Regions from separate parts of the Homo sapiens genome. Here region 2 is linked to region 1. Evidence: promoter capture Hi-C in human tissues and cell types (Jung and others, 2019). All regions are on one chromosome and are shown on one strand. Each heading gives the region's core, a stretch centred on a gene start or on the middle of the fragment in contact. The rest is flanking DNA. Distances are from core to core; before and after follow the strand shown. Region 1 holds the start of RIPPLY3 (ripply transcriptional repressor 3). Region 2 overlaps TTC3 (tetratricopeptide repeat domain 3).

The links. The method cuts DNA at HindIII sites, captures the fragments that hold promoters and counts their contacts. A contact is called where the count stands out against the background at its distance.
Region 2: a contact is called between a fragment that was not itself captured here and the fragment with the promoter of RIPPLY3 in region 1, in 1 of the 25 tissues and cell types used here (mesendoderm cells).

The regions. Positions count from the first base shown.
Region 1 is chr21:37,003,594-37,010,305 of GRCh38, forward strand. RIPPLY3 (ripply transcriptional repressor 3) reads left to right here and starts at 3,109. Exons shown (of 4, transcript NM_018962.3): 1 at 3,109-3,283; 2 at 4,564-4,630. The coding sequence starts at 3,180. RefSeq lists enhancers at 2,450-2,950, 6,501-6,560 and a silencer at 3,174-3,283. The HindIII fragment of the contact is 12,344 bases long and covers 1-4,826 here.
Region 2 is chr21:37,198,590-37,205,301 of GRCh38, forward strand. It overlaps TTC3 (tetratricopeptide repeat domain 3), which reads left to right. Exons shown (of 46, transcript NM_001330683.2): 45 at 1,643-1,735; 46 at 2,851-4,518. The coding sequence ends at 2,985. Among named protein-coding and RNA genes, the nearest start is that of DSCR9, 6.6 kb to the right of the region's middle. The HindIII fragment of the contact is 4,158 bases long and covers 991-5,148 here.

The DNA of each region.
Region 1 (6,712 bases), core at 1,859-4,358:
ACTCAGCAGGCACTTCTGTTTTATTTGTAGCCTTTGAATATATAGTTCACATCCTATGCATACAGTTTTGTTCTTTCCACATGGTCATGTTTTTCCTATGCTGTCCAAAACTCTGTAAACATATTTTTATTAACTGCATACTATTCTACCGTCATTTGTTTAATCATTGCCATATTTTTGGACATAGTTTTTCAACAGTGTAAGCAGCGCTCTCTGATTAAATACATCTTCATTCCCATTTCAGAATACATCTACAGTATAGACACAAGTAGAATTACTGGGACAAAAGGTGAACTTTCATTTTTGTTGTGCTTTTTTTGAGACAGGGTCTTAGGGTCTTGCTCTGTGGCCCAACATGGAGTGCAGTGGCATGATCATGGCTCACTGCAGCCTGCAACTCCTGGGTTCAAACAGTCCTCCCACCTCAGCCTCCTGGGTAGCTGGGACCACAAACATGTGTCACCACACCCGGCCTGGGTGAACATTTTTATGGCACACAATACACCTTATCAAACTTTTTCATTGCATTGCCACCAGCTACCTAGAAGACACTCATTTAAAAACATCCACACCTAGCCAGGCGTGGTGGTGTACACCTGTAGTCCTAGCTACTTGGGAGGCTGAGGTGGGAGGATCATTTGAGCCTGGAAGGTTGAGGCTGCAGTGAGCCGTGATCATGCCACTGCACTCCAACCTGGGCAACAGGGCAAGACTCTGTCTCAAAAAACAAACAAACAAAAAACACAACGAAAACACCCCTTCTGCACCCAGTTGCCCAGTGTTCTTTCATTTTCTTTTCTTTTTTTAAAAAATTATATATATATATATTTGAGAAAAATAACAGCGTCTCACTCTGTGGCCCAGGCTGGGCTGCAGTGGTGTGATCATGTCTTACTGCAGCCTCAACTTCCTCGAGCTCAGGTAATCCTCCCACCTCAGCCTCCTGAGTAGCTGGGACCACAGGCCCACTCCACCACGCCTGGTTAATTTTTGTATTTTTGTAGAGACGGGGTTTCACCACTCCGGCCAGGCTGGTCTGGAACTCTTGACCTCAAGTGATCTGCCTGCCTCTGCTTCCCAAAGTGTGCAGATTACAGGATTGAGCCACCGCGCCCTGCCCAGTGTTCTTGTAAAACCCCATTCTGCATTTAGATTAAATATGGTACCTTATTGTTGCAATATGGCCCACTAATGTTCTTTGCCTCCTTCTAGCCTCCTCCCATTAATTCCCCCCTCTTAAATGTTTGCCTTTATTTAGATTTAATTATTGTTGCTCAAAATCTTAATTAAAAAAATGTGAAAACACTTTAATGTCTGAAGTTCTTCGATTTTTTTTTTTTTTTTTTTTTTGAGACAGAGTCTGGCTCTTGTTGCCCAGGCTAGAGTGCACTGGCGCGATCTCGGCTCACTGCAACTTCTGCCTCCCGAGTTCAAGCGATTCTCCTGCCTCAGCCTCCCAAGTAGCTGGGATTACAGGCACCCGCCACCACACCCGGCTATTTTTTTGTATTTTTCTTAGTGGATACGGGGTTTCATCATGTTGGCCAGGCTGGTCTCAAACTCCCGACCTCAAGTGATCCACCCGCCTGGGCCTCCCAAAGTGCTGGGATTACAGGCATGAACCACCGCGCCTTGCGGAAGTTCTTCGATTTTTTTTTTTTTTTTTGGAAAGGGAATCTCTCTCTGTCTCCCACGCTGGAGTGCAGTGGCACACTCTCGGCTCACTGCAACCTCCGCCTCCCAGATTCAAGCCATTCTCCTGCCTCAGCCTCCCAAGTAGCTGGGATTACAGGAGCCTGCCACCACGCCCGGCTAATTTTTTTATTTTTAGTAGAGACGGGTTTCACCATATTGGCCAGACTGATCTCGAACTCCTGACTTCAAGTGATCCATCCACCTGCCTCGGTCTCCCAAAGTGCTGGGATTACAGGTGAGAACCACCGCGCCTGGCCTAGTTCTTCGATTTTTTAACATCCATCACAGTAACTTAAATTATATAAAGTAACTACCCCTGAGGAGCCCGGGGTAGTTGAAGGCCCTCCAGCGCCTTCGGTGTTCTGTCGCAGTGCTCTACGTGTGAAACCGCTTTCTCCCACCCTGGCCGTGCGCTGGTGATGGTGGCAGCGGCGCTCCAGCGACGCCCGGGGAAGTGTCCCCAGGGTCGGGCAAGGTCGCTTCTGCTGGTCGGGAGGCCCTTTCTAAGCCTGGCTGGGGCTAACCGAAGGAGAAGCCCGCCGCTCCAGGCTTTATTAAAAATTCGCATTCTTTCCAAGGCCGCCATCGGTGGGAAGGGTGCGCTCGTAGCACCCCTCTTGCTCGGTTCCATTCCTGGCCTTCTGTCTCCTGGAAGGGTCGCCGCGCCCCACCCCACCCGCTTCGCCACGGGTTCGAGCCCTGGCGTCGGGGCGTCCGGGAGCCCACTGTCCAGCACCGAAGGCAAGGCCGGTGCACGCGGACCCGAGGATTCGGTAGATGTCCCCGAAGACCCGCTGCCGCTCTAAGGCGGTGGAAGCGAGATTCTCCGGAAACCCAGGGAATCCGATGCTCGCACAGGACCAAAGCCCGAGGCCGCGGGGACCACAGAGGGACGGAGAAGCCGGGACTCCTCACATCCCACATCCGGCAGGGGAAGCCCAGCAGGTGAGCGCAGGTCCCCCCAGTCCCCGAGGGAGTGCGCCCGACGGAAACGCCCCTAGCCCGCGGGCCTCGCTTTCCTCTCCCGGGTTCCTGGGTCACTTCCCGCTGTCTCCAGCCCGAGCTCGTGGCCCCAATCCCTGGTACCTCCATCCTCTGGTCACCCCTTCTCTGGTGCCCCCTCCCCGACTTTTCTTTGTCCCGTCCCCACCCTTGCCCGGGCCTGCCGGACCCCCCTCCTTGACACCCGGCGCCACCTCCTTGAGCTTTTCTCGTCTCCTCCCCATCCCCGGCTCCCTGGTCCCCTCCCGGAACTTCTCTGGTCCCCTCCGCTCCTCCGACCCGGGCTTTTCCTTCGTACCCTGCGGCCCCCTCCGCACCCCTCACGGAGCTCCTCGGGTCCTGCCCCCTCCCAGCGCTTGCCCGCGCCGCCCCGCCCCCGTTTTTAAACCTGGCGCGCGGGTAGGTGAGCGCGTTAGCCCGAGTGGATCTAGGCGCGCTCGTAGGCCGGCGCCGCAGCAAGGGGCGCGGGCTCCGCCGGCACCATGGAGCCCGAAGCGGCGGCCGGAGCCCGGAAGGCGCGGGGGCGCGGCTGTCACTGCCCCGGGGACGCTCCCTGGAGGCCTCCGCCACCGCGCGGGCCGGAGAGGTGAGGGTGGCCCCGCGCCCCGGTGGACGCGCTGAGAGGCGTGCGCGGTGGCGGTGCGGGGAGCGCAGCGAGCGGGAGGCTGGGGCGCTGCTGAACCCCCGATCCCCAGCGGAGCTCCGGAGCTCGACGGCGACGCCAAGCAAGCTCCTGAGCCGGCAGCCGGGTTCCCGGGAGGGGCGCTCAGTTCTCCGGTTCCAACGCACAGCTCTGAAGTGCGGAGGCCCAGGATGTAGCTGGCCAGGAAAGGGGCCGACGCTTCCGTGTAGAGGAGATCTCAGTTAGCCAGCCGGGGACACTGCAGTCTCGGGCTCCTAAGCCAGCCTTGCAAAGGCAATCTCTCACCTTGCTACTTTCTCGGTAGCCGTTTCTGTTGTCCCTGGATTGGGGGCTCGGCGTTCGCTGTCCCTGGGCACCAACCCTTTTAAAGACAGTAACGTTGTAGGAAATCAAATTAGCCAGGGAGGTAGGGAAGGGACCGGGTAGGCCGGATGGGCCAGGTAGCCAGGCAGGAGAAAGATTCCCTCTTTTTTTTTTTTTTTTTTTTTTTTTTGAGACAGGGTCTCACTGTGTCGCCCAGGCTGGAGTGCAATGGCGTGATCTCGGCTCACGGGAACCTCCGCCTCCCGGGTTCAAGCGATTTTCCTGCCTCAGCCTCCTGAGTAGCAGGGATTACACGCGCCTGCCACCACGCCCGGCTAATTTTTGTATTTTTAGTAGAGACTGGGTTTCGCCATGTTGGCCAGGCTGGTCTCGAACTCCTGACCTCGAGTGATCCAGTAACCTCAGCCTCCCAAAGTGCTGGGATTACAGGTGTGAGCCACCGCGCCCAGCCCCCTTTTTTTGTTTGTTTGTTTTTCATCCTACAACTCTGTAAAATCATCTCTGTAGAATCAATCTCCTTCCGTGACCAAGGTGGTGTGATTGAAATTAACCGGGGACAAAGTAGACAGCTATAGTTGGGGAACCCCGAATTGAACAATTCAGCCAGGATTTGCAGGGAGAGAAATCTCTCAACTAATGGGTTCCCTGATAATTGTGTGAGATTCGGGACCTCCCTTCTCAAAGCTTAACTGGAGACAGAGAACTGGGGACGTAGCAGGAGAGAAAAAACACAAATGACAGTAATTTATCCACAGCCCTGAGAACTCCAGGGAAAGTTCCTGGGGGGTCCGGTGCCTCTTTTTCAGGCAGACACTGGAACTAAGAATAGCTCTCATGGCATAGTTTGAAGGCAGCAGAAGTGCCCAGGGTTCACTCTCTCCTGGCGCTTGCCGTTCCAGCCCCGCGCCGTGGCGACCTTGGATCCAGACACCTGGAGATGCTGAGCTGACCAGAACTGGAAGGCCGGTAAGGTTCAGTGCGGGCGTTGTAGGTAACCCTTCCAGCCAGAAAGTGGCATCGTCTTTTAAAATACAGGGACCGTGAATGGCCTTCTGCGCAGGGCCGTCCCTTGGGCGTCTAACCCAGGAGCGCCTCGGGGTCTGGGAGTTGGAACCTGAATGAGTAAGGTGTTAATCAGACCTGACTCGCATTATAGATTGGGCTCCTGGTGGCTTCTCCTTCCTAAAAAAGCATACCCACTATAAAAGCATAATCGTAGGCTGGGCGCGGTGGCTCGGGCCTGTAATCTCAGCACTTTGGGAGGCCGAGACGGGTGGATCACCTGAAGTCAGGAGTTCGTGACCAGCCTGGCCAAGATGGCGAAACCCCGTCTCTACTAAAAATATAAAAATTAGCTGGGCATGGTGGCAGGCGCCTGTAATCCCAGCTACTTAGGAGGCCGAGGCAGGAGAATCGCTTGAACCCGGGAGGCGGAGGTTGCAGGGAGCCGAGATCATGCCACTGCACTCCAGTGTGGGCGACAGAGCAAGACTCATCTCAAAAAAAAAAAAAAAAAAAAAAAACCGTAGTCGTTTCATGGGAATTATAAGGAATGTCCTCCCTGTTGCGGTTTCTTCTGCAAAGCAACAGGTCGGGAGGGGAGGGGAGAGGCTGCCACTATCGCTTGCCTTGGAGAAAAGCTTAGAGCACCATTAGCGTTGGGCCGGTGCCACAGAGCAAATAGGACTGAGCCCCATCTGAGGTGCCCAGAGTTGCCGTTAAAAGCCCCCACCCCGCGTCTGGCCCTTTCTGAAGCACTTTCAGCCCCGTCAAGCACTCCTGGGGTATCTCATGTTGTCTGAGCAAATACACTCAAGCAGAGGGCTTTGTGGGCAAGATTAATGACCTCCACCATTCTTTTGTTACTCTGCATTGGTAACTCAGTTGCTTTATACTTACTGATGTAATGACTTGCTTTCATAGAATTTACCTTTCCTTTGTTACATTTTAAAATATAAATTGATGACTTTTACTTAATTTTTTTTTTTTTGATGACTCTTAAAACACTGAAGAATTAGGCTGGGAAAGACCATGTATTGAATTTACGTAACACGTGTTATATGGACTAACGTGCAGTTATTTGTAATATGGTAAGAAAACTTGATTGTGGGAAAACAGACCTTCACCGTATTTTGATATTTACACGACTTTATTAAATTAATCTGAATATTGGGAATTTTAATTTACTTCAAAGAAGGAAGCAGATAAAAGATAAATCAATTAACAAGAGATGATTTTTAGTCCCCGATTATTTATACATATATCTAAATAATGTAAAATCCCTTCTTTTGCATTCAAACTTAGTTCTTAAACATAAAATTTAAAGGTGCTTGTGTGAGAATATAGATGTTTACAATTATCCAGTTTTCTTTTAAATGAAATGGATGTGGAGCCTATCAGTTTCTTGCAGGAATAAAAATACGATAGCACGCTCCCTAAGTAAGACAGATGGTTTTGGGTTTTGTTTTCTGTTTTGATAAGGCCGTTTGTGAGAAAAATTTACTTGCAGAGAAATGTTAAACGTTAACTTTCTCGCTGATCAGCAGGTAGCCTGTCACGCTGAAGTAGTTCTGTCCACGGATGTGGGTGTGGGAAGAGTGGTTGTTCCCTGGGGGCTGTAGAGCCCGCCAATCCTCACCCCTAGCCCGGAGCCCGCTCTTTGCAGAGCCCAGCTGGTTGCGCAGAGCGACCAGCGCCAGTCTGTGCTCTGGTACTGTGCACCGCCCTGGGTTCCCTGCAGTCCACCGACGAGAGCTGCCCAGCGCAGGGAAGGAACGCTTCTTGCTCAACAGCGCCCTCGCCCGACAAAGCAGGACAATTCCCCAGCTCCCAAGCCCTCTTCTGTATTTCTCAAAAATGCCATTGGCTGGAGTGGCGGTGAAGAGGACTAACGCCTGGTGACCTGTACCAGGGCTCCCGGCAAGCAAAGCAAAACTAGAATAAAACCTCAAGTAGGCCGGGCGCGTGGCTCACCCTGTAATCTCAGCACTTTGGGAGGCCGAGGCGGTCGGATCATCTGAGGTCAGGAGTTCGAGACTGACCTCACGA
Region 2 (6,712 bases), core at 1,820-4,319, 190 kb after region 1:
ATGTGTTCAAACTGGGACCTAATTTGATAACCATAGTTTGTTAAAATTAAAAGTATTAATTTTCAAATTACAAAGTATTACATACAATAGAAAATACAAATAAAAAGGGCATTTAAAAACCCGCCCTGTAATCAGTATTACCACTTTGGTATATATTTTTCTAAACTCTTGAATGCATGGATATGTGAATTAGTCAAAACTGAATACGCTAGTCACACTTTGTATGTTCTCTGAGGGGCTGAATGTTTTGGTTGTTTTCCATTTTTTTTTTTATTGTGGTTGTCCTTTTTTTCTTTTAGTTAGAAATATACTGTGCCCATCTTTTCTAGGAAATAGAAAACGGTCAAGTTAAGTGTATATTTTTTTCAAACTAAACCTGGCTCCGAGCTTTGCACTGGGCATTGGAGAGGCCTTCAATGGCTCTTCCCCGGTCTGGCACTTCCTCTTCTTCCCTGACCCTCGAGTCATGGGCAGCAGTGGAGGGGCATGAACCCTCCTTCTGCAGCATCTGCCCCATCTCCTCCTGGGCCGAGTCATGCCTTGGGAGAGACAGCAAAACCCTGAACAGCAGTTCAAGGTCTTCTCAGCCTTGGGGTGATGCCTCCAGTGCCACTCCCTGAACTTGATCCCACTGCCAGGGCTGCCTGCATTCGCCCACTCCCTCAGCAGGGGTTTTTAGAGCATGAGTTTGAGCTAGGTTTTCTGCCAGCTGCTAAAGACCCAGATGGGACTCATTTTGTGCCTTCAAGGCGCTCAGAGTTAAGAGGCAGTGAGCTAGAGTAGAAGTTAATGGTGCAGTAAGGGTAAGTGCTGTGAGCTGCAGGGAGAACTGTGCCTGGAGTCCCAGGCGACACTCAGGTCTGCTCTCACATCGAAAGCACTGTCTATGCTCACCAGACTGTGAGCCGCTGAGGCCAGAGCCCTCCATTCATCTCTGCGTCCAGCACCCGACACCAACCCTGCCCATGGATGTTTGCCGGATGAGCCATCCGTTTGTTTTGTTTTGATTTGCACAAGTAATCCATGCTCATAGAAACTAGAAAATAGTAAAGAAAAAGATTAAATCTCCCTTACCCTGAGGCAACCACTGTTAACTGTTTTTCTAGGCATGTATGTATACATGCAGCCCCTTTATTAAAAAGTGAGTTATATATGATACATGTTGTCTTGTTAGCTGCTTTCATTCAGCAGGCTGTTGGGGCCAGCTTTCTATGTCAGGGATTATGGGCTTCCGTCATGATTTTCCTTTTGGCTACACAATAGCCCATTGTGTGGATGTGTTGGAATTTACTACCCTCAACTGTTAGATGATTAAATGTATGATTAATTCACACCATGCCATGTGATTATCCCATACTGTACTTTAGGTATGGTAATCTTCACCTGGGGATCTTCTGGTCACATAAAACAGTTTTTTCTCTGAGGAAATTAGAACTTTATACTTTTCTTTTTGTATTTTTATATTTTTTCTTAAGAAATGCTATTAAAAAATAAGTTGTTTCCTCAGACTGTTTAGCTGTAATTGTGAATAATTTGCCACCCTTTGTGGCAGAAGATGTTTGAAGGCCACTTGAAGGAAGAACTCGTGTCATAAAAACAACTGTAGTTATTCTTTACTATTCAGGTGTGTTTGTTTCCACAGGCACTGGGTGCAAGTTCCTGTGAAATATGCCACGAGGTGTTCAAATCAAAAAACGTGCGTGTGCTCAAATGTGGGCACAAGTATCACAAAGGGGTAAGAGCTCTTTTTGGCCATCCTTACAGCATGCATTGGGACCTTCAAATATTTTCAAAATAAGAAAGGAATTGTTTTCTAGTCATCAGTATTTATTGTGCTTTCAAACTATTTTCTTTGCAAACCTCCCGTGTCAGTGTTCAGTGCCTCCCTGTCCTCACACCAGCTCTGCAGGAAGGGCAGCTCTGGAGACCGTCCTTTCCATCCCTTGTGGGGAGAGGGGAACAGCAGCTCCAGCCACTCGTTAGTGCTGAGATTCAAAGCAGTATTAGTTCCTTGAAAGGTGATTTCTTACACACTTGACTAAATGGAGAAACAGTGAAACCATTTTTTTGACTTAGTGTAGTATATGAAGTCAGTTTAACATTTTAGAGGAGAAAAACTAAACCTAGCTGAGTCCCTTCTGCCTGACCCAGGGACAGTCCTGCTCGTACCGTTCTGGGATCTGTGTGTGAACTATCATGGTGTTCTAGGTACCGTGAGCATTTGTGTGCACCCCTGCTGCTGGGTTAGAACAGATCAGGTCTCTGCCATGGGGATTTGCTAATCCCTTGGAACGGGATAAATACAGCATGCTCACTGAAAGGAATTGAGACCACTTGCCAAGTCTCTGGTGTGGTGTGCCTCCTTGGGTACAGGGTCTTATATTTGGGCTAGCTGACTGTCCACAGCCTCTGCAGTGTGGGCAGCAGCAGCAGGAGTGTGGCGTGCAGGCTGGAGGGCTGTTCCAGAGCCAAGGGCCAAGGCCAGGCCAAGGGATGGGCTAAGAATGAGTGATTGGGTCATAGGGCCGAGAATGCCAGGCTCTGGAATTTGGCGCAGCTGAAGTGGAAGAGCCGAGCCTGGAACCGGGGATCAGGGCAAGACCACCCCCTGAGGCCAGGTTGGAGGCCCAGAGCGCTCAGGATCTGACCCTGAGGTGGGATCGTTTGCGGCTGGGGCTTTGTCCACACTCTGGCCTGAGCGGGTGTTGGTGTCCCTGAGTATTGGGCAGCTCCAGGCCCAAGAGACCAAGGGCAAGTGAGCCACGCCTGCCAAGGAGCCCAGCAGCACAGGGGAGCTAAGCTTCCTCATGGTCCTGAAGGCATCTTCTGATTTTGTTTTCTCCTTTTCAGTGCTTTAAGCAGTGGCTTAAAGGGCAGAGCGCTTGCCCGGCCTGCCAGGGTCGTGATCTCCTGACAGAAGAGTCACCTTCTGGAAGAGGCTGGCCCAGTCAGAATCAGGAGCTGCCTTCCTGCTCTTCTAGGTAGTCACACTTCACTAAAGTGTCATCCACCAGTGTGTTGAATCCGAAGAATGACAATTTTCTACCACTGGTGTAAAAAACAAACATTTGAAGACCCTTGTGCATTGTGTGTCACAAAGCTAAATACATGGAAATCGTTAATATCGCTGATATTAAGTAATTTCCCCACTCTGAGTGAATACTTTGATGATTGCCAACAGTGGCTAATAAAATGACGGCTACCACACTCATGGGTCACTGGGGCTGCGCAGGGCTCTTTGAGGTGGGTGGCTTCTTTTGGAAAGTACTATGAACGTCTCGAAGCAGTATTCTAGTGATAAGAATTCTTAACATAGCCAAGCGCCCCACGTTTGTTCCCCACGTTTGTTCCCCTTTTCTGTTTGAAAAACCTGTTCTGGTAGCTCCACAAGAGAGATGATACTGACTTTTTAAATTTTTTACAAGAGTCTGTATTCCTGATATGCCTATATTTTTCCTCAAAGATTCTGCATTTTAAGGATGGGCATAAGCAAACTATATTTTAATAATTTATAGTTAATGTTAAAATATTGGCTGATTTAGACCAAAAGATTCAAATCTCCTCTTTGTGAAATCCCATCTGCATTTGATTTTTTATTATTTTATGTTCCCCCGTTAGATTGTTTTAAGTGTTTGCTTTTCATCTTTTATAGATGTAATCTGATTTTCAAAAATCATTAACACTTTTTAATTAGTATCGACTAAGACTTTTTCCCCCTGGAATCGAGGCTGTGTGTCCGTCATCCCAGCCCCCGGTTGGAGCCTGCTCTTTGAACTCCGCTGCCTTCCTTAGCAGCTTCTGTCCTCTTCTGTGAGTCAGTCAGCGAGTGCTTGGGATCCGCATCCAGCCGTGCTGAGCACACAACAGGCTGTGTGTGGAAATGGCCACCACCATTCTCCTTCCCCACCCCACCACAAAAAGAGAAGCTGTGTCTTTAGACAACCCTGAGGTATCTGTGTTACAATCGTTCTGTGTTTGATATTTGTGTAAAGTATGCATGCAGTCTTGTACTGTGACCTAAGAACAAAACTGTAACTGCATTAGAAACCATGAAAAAATTAGATATTGTTTTGTGACTTTTAGACAGTGGTAAATATAGAACCATGAATTCTGGTCACATTCCATTTCTCTCCAACATGAAGGATCAAAAAATGTTTTTCAATGTGTTCTTTGTTCCACTGGAAACTTAGAGTCATGAGTTTATGAGCTGATTTGGTCACCTTCCTCTGCCTTTGTTCACTGTGAGTTCTGATGTCTTAGTGACTTAGTTCTTAGAAGCTCACGCCTTAGTTTGAAACAGATTCTCCACGGTGGTCCCCAAAACACTGTCTGCATATCCATAAGAATTGAGCGCTATGGGTGTTAACGTGCATGAGGATCAGTTTGCAGCAGCAAGTACAAAAGGAGAAGAGGAACATCCGTTGAATGAGTGTGTTTTGTACATAACTTCAGATACTTGTGAACATGCCTTATATTTGTCCAACAACTGTCAGAATAAAGAACATTCTAAAATGAGAAGTTCACTGTCACTCTTGTCCATTCTTTCTTAGAGAAGTTTAAAAATGCATTCTTCTGGAAAACTTAGGACATGTATGTCATGCTAACATTTTAAGAGTGCTTTCGTCAGGAAAGAACAGCCACGCCATGCTGTGTCTGAGGAGTCTGACCAGGGATCTCAGGGCGTTTTAGGGCCTGGGTCAGAATTTTCCTTTGTGCCTGCGTAAGATCGACTATAGGAGTTCACACAGAGATGATAGAGTTTACTTCTTAAGGCTAAATTAAGAGATTTTTCATGTGAATACATATAAGGATGTTGAAGATAAATTGCATTCCTTGGTATATTTTTTGAGGCATTTGTGGATTTATGGGCCACTGAGGCTGTCGATGGGGTTTCCTCTATAGAGGGGCTTCTGGGTATGCTGAGCACTCACAGAGTGAAAGCTCATTTGAAGAAAGCTCATTTTCAAAATCTGTCTTCTGTTTTTTCAAGTGTATTCAAAGTATTATCAGTACGTATTTTTAGTCTGATGGCATTTAATTTAATTTAAAGCAATGACTATTCCTTAAGAATTTAGGCCGGCCGCGGTGGCTAACGCCTGTAATCCCAGCACTTTGGGAGGCCGAGGTGGGCGGATCACGAGGTCAGGAGATTGAGATCATCCTGGCTAACACAGTGAAACCCCGTCTCTACTAAATACAAAAAACTAGCCGGGCATCGTGGTGTGTGCCTGTAGTCCCAGCTACTTGGGAAGCTGAGGCAGGAGAATGGCGTGAATCCGGGAGGCGGAGCTTGCAGTGAGCCGAGATCGCACCACTGCACTCCAGCCTGGGTGACAGAGCGAGACTCCGTCTCAAAAAAAAAAAAAAAAAAAAAAGATTTTAGATTAGTTTTCCCTGCTGAACTGCTTAATCTATGTTATGAATAATGGATAGCCTGGTATAAAATTGAAGTGGTGCCCCAGCAATGCAAAATGTTACTACGGTTTTAAGGTAATCTCAAAGACTACAGAAGTGCCCCCACTTATTCGTGATTTTGATTTCCACAGTTTGTTACCCACGGTCAGCCGTGGTCTGAAAATAGGCAAGTACAGTGCAGTACAATAAGATATTTTAAGGGGGAGAGACCACACTCACATAATCTTTACTACAGTGTAATTGTTCTATTTTATTACTAGTTCTAGTTGTTCATTTCTTACTGTGCCTAATTTATAAATTAAACTTCATCATAGATACATATGTATAGGAGAAAACATTGCATATGTGGGGATTGGAATTTTCTGTGGTTTCAGGCATCCACTGGAGGTCTTGGAACATATCTCCCACGGATAAAGGATGTGTGTGTGTGTGTGTGTGTGCAGTCGCAGCAGGTGGTCAAAGTGCTCAACACACCACAAACTGAAGCAGTAAAACTATTTTAGAGTAGTTTTTTAGTCAGATGACTGGAGAAGGGAATTAAAGGAAACAGTAGAAGACACAATAGCAAAGATGGAAGTTCCTTCTGTCAGCCTGAGGTACTTACTCAGGAGGCTGAAAAAGCAGAGGCCGTAAAGTGATAGGATGGTTGGTCAGAATGAGGACCAAAAAGCATCTGCAGTATGACCTCAGAAAGAAAGAAGGTATCAGAAGGAGAAGCTGGGAGGGTATACAGATGAGTAAATTCCTGGTGAAGTGCTCAGCACAGTGCCTGCACACAAACTCGTGATAACCGGAGCTAACAACTAACTGTCACTAAGATTAAGGGCCTGGAAATTGCACAAGAAAGAGTAGGATAGTACAGTAGGAAAGCCGCCGTTAGTTAGGAAGTCCACTTCCTCAGTGTGGCCTGGATTGGAACACGATCCAGTGGTGAAAAGAGCAAGAAGAAATCAGATCACCTCAAAGTCGTTTTGGAAAATAACAGCTTTGTTCCTGAGATCTCCCTGAATTGACTTCAGGAATATTGTGATTCTATAGCAATGGATCATTTCACCTTTTGGCTTTCCCAAATTATCGGACTGAGCAGCTTTGAGTCAACCTTTCCTATCCAGTTTGGGTTGAGGATCAGGGCCCTGTGGTGGGCTCACTAGGGATATGCCCTGGAGCATCGGTGTGGCCAGGCAAGGCTCATTGTAGTGGAGGTGTGTAGTCCAGACTCCCTGGCTTAGGGTGAGAACTGTTACCATTTGTTCCATCATCGCCTCTACTTTTTTTTTTTTTTTGAGACGGAGTCTAG